Regions from separate parts of the Homo sapiens genome. Here region 2 is linked to region 1. Evidence: promoter capture Hi-C in human tissues and cell types (Jung and others, 2019). All regions are on one chromosome and are shown on one strand. Each heading gives the region's core, a stretch centred on a gene start or on the middle of the fragment in contact. The rest is flanking DNA. Distances are from core to core; before and after follow the strand shown.

Evidence for each region. Contacts are between HindIII fragments. The study calls those that stand out against the background at their distance.
Region 2: a contact is called between a fragment that was not itself captured here and the fragment with the promoter of FBXW11 in region 1, in 1 of the 25 tissues and cell types used here (adrenal gland).

The regions. Positions count from the first base shown.
Region 1 is chr5:172,004,932-172,009,344 of GRCh38, reverse strand. FBXW11 (F-box and WD repeat domain containing 11) reads left to right here and starts at 2,707. Exons shown (of 14, transcript NM_001378974.1): 1 at 2,707-2,887. The coding sequence starts at 2,843. RefSeq lists enhancers at 313-940, 2,383-2,652, 2,196-2,823, 3,423-3,542 and silencers at 2,683-2,962, 2,973-3,082. The HindIII fragment of the contact is 22,108 bases long and covers 1-4,413 here.
Region 2 is chr5:172,322,362-172,326,835 of GRCh38, reverse strand. It overlaps a transcript of SH3PXD2B not described here. Among named protein-coding and RNA genes, the nearest start is that of UBTD2, 41 kb to the right of the region's middle. The HindIII fragment of the contact is 5,649 bases long and covers 316-4,474 here.

The DNA.
Region 1 (4,413 bases), core at 1,458-3,957:
CCCTGCATATTGTTGCCATGTAGATCTAATTGTCAGATATTCTAATTTTTCAAGAAAAGCTGGAAATTCAGATTTTGAAAACCTGAACATCAAATTTTAAAAACAGTAAAAAAGACGGTATAGGACAAACATATGTATGTGCCGGGTCGGCGGGGGGAGGGTCACATCCAGCTTGTGACTCCTACCCCATGCCTGTTTTTATGCCCCTGTACAATCCTTTCCCACACTGACTATGGGTGTGGCCATACTACTAGTTTTGGCCAACGGGACATTACCAAGTGTGGTGCATACCAGAGGTTTGATAAGCATTTGTTCACTGGGGCTTGTCCTTTCTCAAGTCACTATGCAGACGTTTGAATGATAAAAAGCCACAGGGAGGAGAGGCCCTAGAAGATGAAAAGTCATTTTGAATGAGTTCCCAGCTGATTGCATGTGGGCCCCGGCTGAGCCCGGGTCAGCCCACACAATTGTAAAATCATAATAAACCATTGTTATTCTAAGCTACTAAGTCTTCGGAGGTTTGTTGTGTTGCAACAGGTAACTGAAATAGAGGTCATATCTAATCCCTTTGTTTTACTAATGAATGTCCTAAGGGCCATAGTGGAACGGACCTGGTGAAATTCAGATAGCATGACAGTGGTAAGAACTTTCCAATTCTGTGCTCTTCCTATTGCTTTTCTTTCAATTCCCTTGGTGAAAAGCACCAGGTAAGGACTATGAAACTTCAAAGTCTACCTGCAGGGAACTTATACTGTGTCCTGAATGCATGCAAATTACTGTAACTTGGTCCTTGGTAATGGAAAGATTTCTAGGTCATCCAGCCTCTTTGACTTTATAGGTGCAGAGAATGCAAAAACACTTTGAGAAAGTGAAAAGCAGCCTCTGATATCTGGAAGCTGGCCTGGTACAATCAGCCATGCCATGATGTTACTAGACCACAGCCTGGCCCTTATAGCTAGGCTTTGTGTTTTCCTGTAGAACAAAAACAATTCCAAAGAACATCAACATCAGACGAGGTCATTCTGTGACCATGATAGATCCAGACAAATACAAGACCACTCTATAATCAGGTCTAAACACGATAAAAAGATAAAACCTGATGATTGTCCAAACCACAAAAAATGACTCAACATCCCCACTTGGCTAATATGAGGGAGCTGCTGCTGCACTTTTTTTTTTTTTTTTCGTTTTTGAGACAAGGTCTGGCTCTATCACTCAGGGTACAGTGGAGTGGTGCGATCTCCATTCACTGAAACCTCCACTTCCTGGGCTCAAGCGATCGTCCCACCTCTGCCTCCCAAGTAACTGAGATGACAGGCGCGCACCACCAGGCCCGGTTCATTTTTGTATTTTTTGTAGAGAAGAGTTTCGCCATGTTGCCCAGGCTGGTCTGGAACTCCTGCGCTCAAGCAATTCGCCTGCCTCGGTTTACCAAAGTGCTGGGATTACAGGCGTGAGCCACTGCGCCCGGCCAGGCTGCTGTTTCTTTATCTGCACAGCTTTAGCCTCAATCTAGAATTCCCTTCCTCTAGATAAGATGAACTGAGATGCTCAATCATGGAACGACCCTCTCTTCCTGACAGTATCTAATCCAGTGAAGCTCTCACTTCCTTAAACCCTCTCCCAAATCACTAACAACTCTTACCGAGAGGCCCTATCGTTCCTCAATGTGTGTTCTCAGTCACTGCAACTAGTAATAAACCCAGCTTGTTCAACGATCCGTGTCTTCCTGGTGGGATTTGGTTAGAGGGCACGGACAGACCTAAGTTACACAGAGTTGGAGGCTGAGTTCACTAGAAGGAGTCTCCGCTTGTGTGTTCCTTCTTAGCCACTCTTTTGGTTAGTGTCTGTCGTCCCTCCACCAGAATTAAGCTCCATGAGAACAGGAGCCTTGTCTGTCATGTTCAGAGCTGATTCTCAGCGCCTAGAACGGTACGCAGCGGAAGCTGGATGCTTAAAAAATAACCATTTTCTGAACGAATGAATGAGGGGCTCGATATACGCACGTCCCCTTTAATCTCGCAGCTCCTCGCAGATCGTGTGACATACAGACAGCACCACAGCACATTTCCCAAAACCCCGTCTTTCCCGAAGAAATCTCGAAACTCTCACTCCTGGGATGCCCATCCTCTCAGAGCCTCTTCCCCAGGCCGAGCTTCTCTCACTCGCTGGCCCCTTCCCACACCTGAGCCCCAGGTCTATACACCTTCCTAACGCACCTAGAACCCACCTGTCTCCACCATCTGCCCCTACCATCAGACACTGCCGGACGGGCCGCGCAGCTACCTAGGCGTCTAGGGAGCACTGCGGCATGGACCGCGCATGTGCGGAAATGGGTCGCATACGCAGGACCTCCGACAAGTGAGGAGTTGCCTCGGAGTTTCCGTCCCGGTCTGGGCAGCCTTGGGCTGCCAGGAAGTCAAGAGAAGCTAGCCGGAAGGACAACCCGGGCGCACGGCTTTCTGGGACACGTAGTCGTGGCGCTCTCGAGGCCCTGCCATGAGCAAGCTCTTAACTCTTCAGGTCTGCACGTCCTACGCCCACCGTCCAGTGCTACTCTCAGCTCGGAGTTCAGCTTCGGGCTGCCAAGAGCCAGCAACCTGGTGTCAGAGGCTCGGTCCCACAACGCTCTGCGGGCCGCGGCGCCTGCTGGGAGGTGTAGTCCCCGATCTGCGTACTGCGTTCGCCGAGGGGGAGGGCGGAGCTGCCGGCGGCCCGGGCGGGCTGGCAGCTAGAGTGGGTGCGATAGCCGCCTCCGCCTCTGCCGCCTCCGCCGTCGCCTCCTCCGCCCGGGCCGTTCGCTGCTGCGCGGGGAGAGCGAGGCGGGGCCGCCGGGGCCGCCATGGAGCCCGACTCGGTGATTGAGGACAAGACCATCGAGCTCATGGTGAGTGCGGCCCGCTGGACCGTCTGTGCTTCCGTCCGTCCGGCCCCGGGCGGGCCTGCCCACCTCAACGTCCGGTGCGAGGCCGGCTCTGGCCCTTCCCAGACGCCTCGACCCAGACCCGGGCCCCCAGCCTTCCCTGGCCTCGGACCTGGCGCGGGCTCCTCTGATCCCTCGACATCTCCGGCCGGTCCTGGCCCGGCCCCCTCCATGCCCCTCGCTTCTCCCCCTCCCCCTGGTCCCGTCTCCGGTCCCAGCTCTCGGACGACCCTCGCTCGTTTATGCTGTAGACTTAGGTCGCACTCGCTCTAGCACCCCATTCTCCTTCTTTTAGAAAGGGATTTTTTTTTCTTTCCTCTGTTTCGGCCCAGGCCCGCACCGCGCTTGCAAGCCCCACTCAGGCCGAGTGAGATGGTGGGAAGGAGTACGGAGATGGGTTGGGGCCGCCTGGGCCTCCGCGTCCTAGGAGAGGTCTCAGCACCCACTCCCCAGCCTAGGTCTGTGTGGATGCCAGGATAGGCCCTACAGAGCTGGGGGGGCAGGGAGCTTTCGGGTTTGAGGCTGTGGCGGATAAGGAGGCCTCTTTCCCGGGCCCTTGTGGTGTCCGGCTTCTCGGACAAAGGGTTTCCTACCCGGCGGAGAGGGATGTTTGCATAGCAAGGGCCCAGGTACTCTGGATTCCATCCTCCAGGAAAGAGAAGGCGCAACTTCACGTTTTCCAGAGCTGCTTTGGGAAATTGGAGATGACTGGGGAGGGAGCCATCCTCATCACTGCCGCGAGGTCTTTCTTCTCAGAAAGAAAAAAAAAAGAGGGGAATCCTTGGCCCCCGGGGGAAGCGACCACTCTTCTGTTAGAAACCACTGGCAGCCAGGCCAGACTCCCGGTCCGTGGACACCCTCCACCCTCCTCCGAAGCTTTAGGATTTGAAACCAGAAGGGGTTTTTAGGAACAGGACAGTGAGAGAGTGGCTAGAAGTGAAGAATTTGCTAATTGATGGATGATTTGGTGGAAGAAATAAAATATGGCAGATATTACCTGCCAACGTGAACATGAGGGAAATCAAATTGGGCTCTGGAGAGCTGGGAAGAGGAAGTCTGCATCAGCAAATGGACATGTCCAGGATTTCTTCCTATGGAAGCCTTGACAGTTTCTTTGTATCTTTCCTAACACGGTAACAACTTCTTCCCCAGGGTTGAGAGGAGAGGTGGAAGAATCTACTTAACCCAGCAAAATGTTTTCCTAGCCAGATTTTCTTCAGTGTGAAAATGTTTATTGAGTCAGTGATTCCACTGGGTAGGGTTGGTGACATCAGAGCCACTTCCCCCATTTAACGCTATAAATAATAAATGGTGACACTGAAAGTCTGTTGGATAGCTGCATGGTTTCTGTGGATGATGGTGTCTGGGGAGTTGAGATGCTTGTTTTAAAAATGGAAGTACAGTAGCATAAATATGGAGGCAGCTTAATGTTTGCTGTCCTTTGCATAATTCACAGAACTGGACTTCTCTAGCATTCTTGAAAACTAGGA
Region 2 (4,474 bases), core at 1,891-4,390, 320 kb before region 1:
AGTACAGGAGTTGGCAAACTTTTTCTTAAAGGGTCAGATAGTAAATATTTGGGGCTTTGCAAACCAAGGGGCAAAACCAGAATGTTACACAAGTATTTACGTAACTATTCAAAATACAACTGTCTGAAAATGTACAAACCATGTGAAAAGAAACATGCGGCTGGATGGGTTAAGCCCAAGGACTACAGAGCTTGACAACCCCTGCCTAGTATATATTTATCTTCTATTTTATTATTTTTCTCAAAATGGACATCTTTCCAAAGTATGTTTATGGAACACCCTCCCTCAACATGATCATGAAAAGCTGTTCTGTGGCTGAATCCACTTGACAAACACTTGTCTGAATATCCTCCAAATCTCCCTCCTTGGAGGGCCACACACCAGCACATTAAAGACTCCGAAGCCTTCAATTAACAAGCTGTTTAACCTAGTTCAATCCAGTTATTTCCAAAATATCTTTGACAACAGAATCCTCTTTTACATGTAACGTTTATGAACATCCCACAGAACACACTTTGGCATGTATGCTGCTGTAGATCCTACATTTTAAGCATTATTCAGAACTTCACTATATTAAATTTAGTTTATTCCTTACAGTGAATAAATATGAGGAATCTGGGTTGGGTGGTGCATGTTAGTTACTATCCTCAGCGGAGTAACCAGGCCGCTATGGTTCAAATGTGTCCCCTCCTAAATTCAGATGTTGCCAATGTGACATTGGCCTTTAAGTATTAAGAGGCAGGGCCGCCAGCCAGGCGCGGTGGCTCACGCCTGTAATCCCAACACTTCGGGAGGCTGAGGCAGGCGGATCACCTGAGGTCGGGAGCTCGAGACCAGCCTGACCAACATGGAGAAACCCTGTCTCTACTAAAAATACAAAATTAGCCAGGTCTGGCGGCATATGCCTGTAATCCCAGCTACTAGGGAGGCTGAGGCAGGAGAATCGCTTGAAACCGGGAGGCGGAGGTTGCGGTGAGCGGAGATCGTGTCATTGCACTTGCACTCCAGCCTGGGCAACAACAGCGAAACGCTGTCTCAAAAAACAAAACAAAACAAAACAAAACAAAACAAAAAACCAGGCAGGGCCTTTAAGCAGTGACTAGGCCAGGAGGGCCCCTCCCTCATGAATGGAATTAGTTGCCCTCGTAAAGGGGCTTGACAGAGGAAGTGTGTTTCAGCTGCTCTTCTGCCCTGCCAGGACACAGCGATCATCCCCCATTTGCCCTTCCGCCTTTCACCACGTGAGGACCCAGCGAGAAGGCCATCACCACATGCCAAGGCCTTGATCATGGTCTTCCTAGACCCTAGAACTGTGAGAAATAAATCCCTGTTCTTTATAAATTACTCAGTCTGCGGTATGCTGTTATAGACAAACAGACAAAGTCCCAGGCCACGTTAGTCTTTCGTTTGGAAAGGACTGAAGATTTGCTGATTTTTCTCCCTGCATTCATCTAGGATCATAAGAATGTTCACTTGGAGAGCCCTGTGGAAGTCCCTCTTAGAAGAATCAAGATGCGGACAGCACTTGGGAAGCACGTGGCAGCTTCCATGGAGATGTGAGAACCACGTCATGTCCTTGCTGCTGTGAACATGAATTTGCTAAACTGCTTTTACTGTATTTTTTTTTGTCGTGGTAAAATATGCGTAATACAAAACTTACCATTTCAGTCATTTTTAGTATATACTTCAGTAGTGTTACGCACACATTGTTGGACAACCACCACCACCATCCATCTTCAGACTTTTTTCATCTTCCCAAAATGAAACTGTGTGCCCATTAAACACTAACCCCACAATTCTCCTCTCCTCTCCCCCCAGCTCCCTGGCAATCGTCATTTTACTTTTTTTTTTTTTTTTGAGATGGAGTTTCGCTCTTGTTGCTCAGGCTGGAGTGCAGTGGTACGATCTCGGCTCACTGCAACCTCCACCTCCCAGGTTCAAGCGATTCTCCTGTCTCAGCCTCCCAAGTTGCTGGGATTACAGGCATGAGCCCCCACACCCGAGTAATTTTGTATTTTTAGTAGAGATGAGGTTTCACCATGTTGACCAGGGTGGTCTCGAACTCCTGACTTCAGATGATTCACCCGCCTCGGCTTCCCAAAATGCTGGGATTACAGGCGTGATCCACCGCGCCCAGCCCATTTTACTTTCTGGCTCTATAAGTTTGACTACTCTAGGTACCTCATATAAGTGTATGTCCTTTTGTGCCTGGCTTATTTCCCTTAGCATAATGTCCTCAAGGTCCATCCATTTTGTAGCATGAGTCAGAATTTCCTTCCTTTTTAAGGCTCAGTAATATTCCATTGTCTCTTTAGACCACTGTGTTAAGCCATTCTTGCCTTGCTATAAAGGAATATGTGAAACTAGGTAATTTATAAAGAAAAGAGGTTTAATTGGCTCACAGTTCTGCAGGCTGTACAGGAAACATGGTGCCAGGCATCTGCTCAGCTTCTGGGGAGGCCTCAGGAAGCTTGCAATCATGGCAGAAGGCAAAGGGGGAGGCGGTGTCTCACATAGCAAAAGCAGGAGCAAGAGAGAGAGTGGGTGGGAGGTGCCACACAGTTTTAAGCAACTAGATCTCATGAGAACTCATTCACTCAACGACAGCACCAAGACATGAGGGATCCTTCCCTTTCTTGCACGTGTCTCTCTTGTCGTTCTGCTTCTGCCACAGGATGATACAGCAAGAAGGCCCTCGCCAGATTCAAGCCCCTTGACCTTGGACTTCCGACCCTCCACGACTGTGAGAAATAAATCCCTATTCTTTATCAATTACCCAGCCTGTGGTATTCTGTTATAGCAACACAAAATGGACTAAGACAACAGTTTTTCAAATTTGAGTTTGTACCCACCCATCTTAAAGATAACAAAATTCTTATAGATTCCCAGTGTTTAGACTTAAATGATTTTAAATTAATGTATATTATATACATAAGCCAGACAGACATAAACATGTTGCCTTGTAGCTACTATGCAAGTAAAAAATGAATACTGGGCCAGGCGCAGTGGCTCACACCTGTAGTCCCAGCACTTTGGGAGGCCGAGGTGGGCAGATCGCCTGAGGTCAGGAGTTCGAAACCAGCCTGGCCAAAATGGTGAAACCCCTTCTCTACTAAAACTACAAAAATTAGCCAGGTGTGGTGGCGCATGCCTGTATCCCCAGCTACTTTGGAAGCTGAGGCAGGAGAATCCCTTAAACCTGGAAGGCGGAGGTTGCAGTGAGCCGAGATGATGCCACTGCACGCCAGCCTGAGAGACAGAGCAAGACTCTGTCTCAAAAAAAAAAAAAAAAAAAAAAAAAAAGAATACTTTCACAGGTTAAACACAAAGCTGACAGAGTTTACCTTAACATTAACAGGAGACCTGATGGCGCTTTTTATTTTTAATTCATACACACACACACACACACACACACACACACACACATATACACACACATACATATACTGATTTTTTTCAGCTTTGCTGAAATTATATCTCCACTCACACGGACAGGATGGAGGCAACCGCATTGGAGTAGATTTTTTGGAATCAATCTGCCTATATATTCTGAGTATTGTGATGACTCATTTTTCTCTAATGGAAATACTGGGAAAACCTTTGTTAAAGCAGCATATCGTGGTGCATTCAACACTCATTTGGCACAAATATATCACTAACATATGACGTCGGACCTGATTCTTTTCTCCTTAGCTAATGAAATTTGAAGTCATAGCCTGAGACCCTAATTCACTTGCCAGCAGAAATCAGTTGTTGGGGCCAACGTTCAGATTCTCCAGAATATACCTATCCATCTTTTACTTATTTTGTTTTTATAAATGTATGAGGTACAAGTGTAATTTTATTACATGGATAAGTTGCATAGTGTTGAATTCAGGGCTTTTACCAATCTGTCTTTTTTAAAATGTCATTGAAATGGAAACTCAGAATTTAAACATTCTCATAGAGAAGGGTTTTTTCCATTTTTTTAAAAATTTATTCTCATAGGGAGGTTTTATATCCAACTTAAGAAACACTATGGGGCAGGCGTGGTGGTGCATGCCTGTAATCAATGGGCACTGAGGCGGGAGGATCGCTTGGGCCCGGGAGTGCCAGGCTGCAGTGAGCTATGATCATGTCACTGCACTTCAGCCTGGGTGACAGAGCGAAGTTCCTTCTCTAAAAAACAGAGAAGGAGAGGGAGAGAGGAAGAAAGGAAGGGTGGGAGGGAGGGAAAGAAGAGAGAAGAAAGAAGAGAGAAAGGAAGGAAGGAAGGAAGAGAGAGAGAGAGAAAGAAAGAAAGAAAAAGAAAGAAAGAGAAAGAAAAAGAAAGAAAGAAAGAAAAAGAAGAAGGAAGGAAGAGAAAGAGAGAAAGAGAAAGAAAGAAGAAGGAAGAGGAGGGGAAGGAAGGAAGGAAGGAAGGAAAGGAAGGAGGAAAAGGAGGGAGGGAGGAAGGAAGGAAGGAGAGAGATAGGGAGGAAGGCAGGGAAATAAA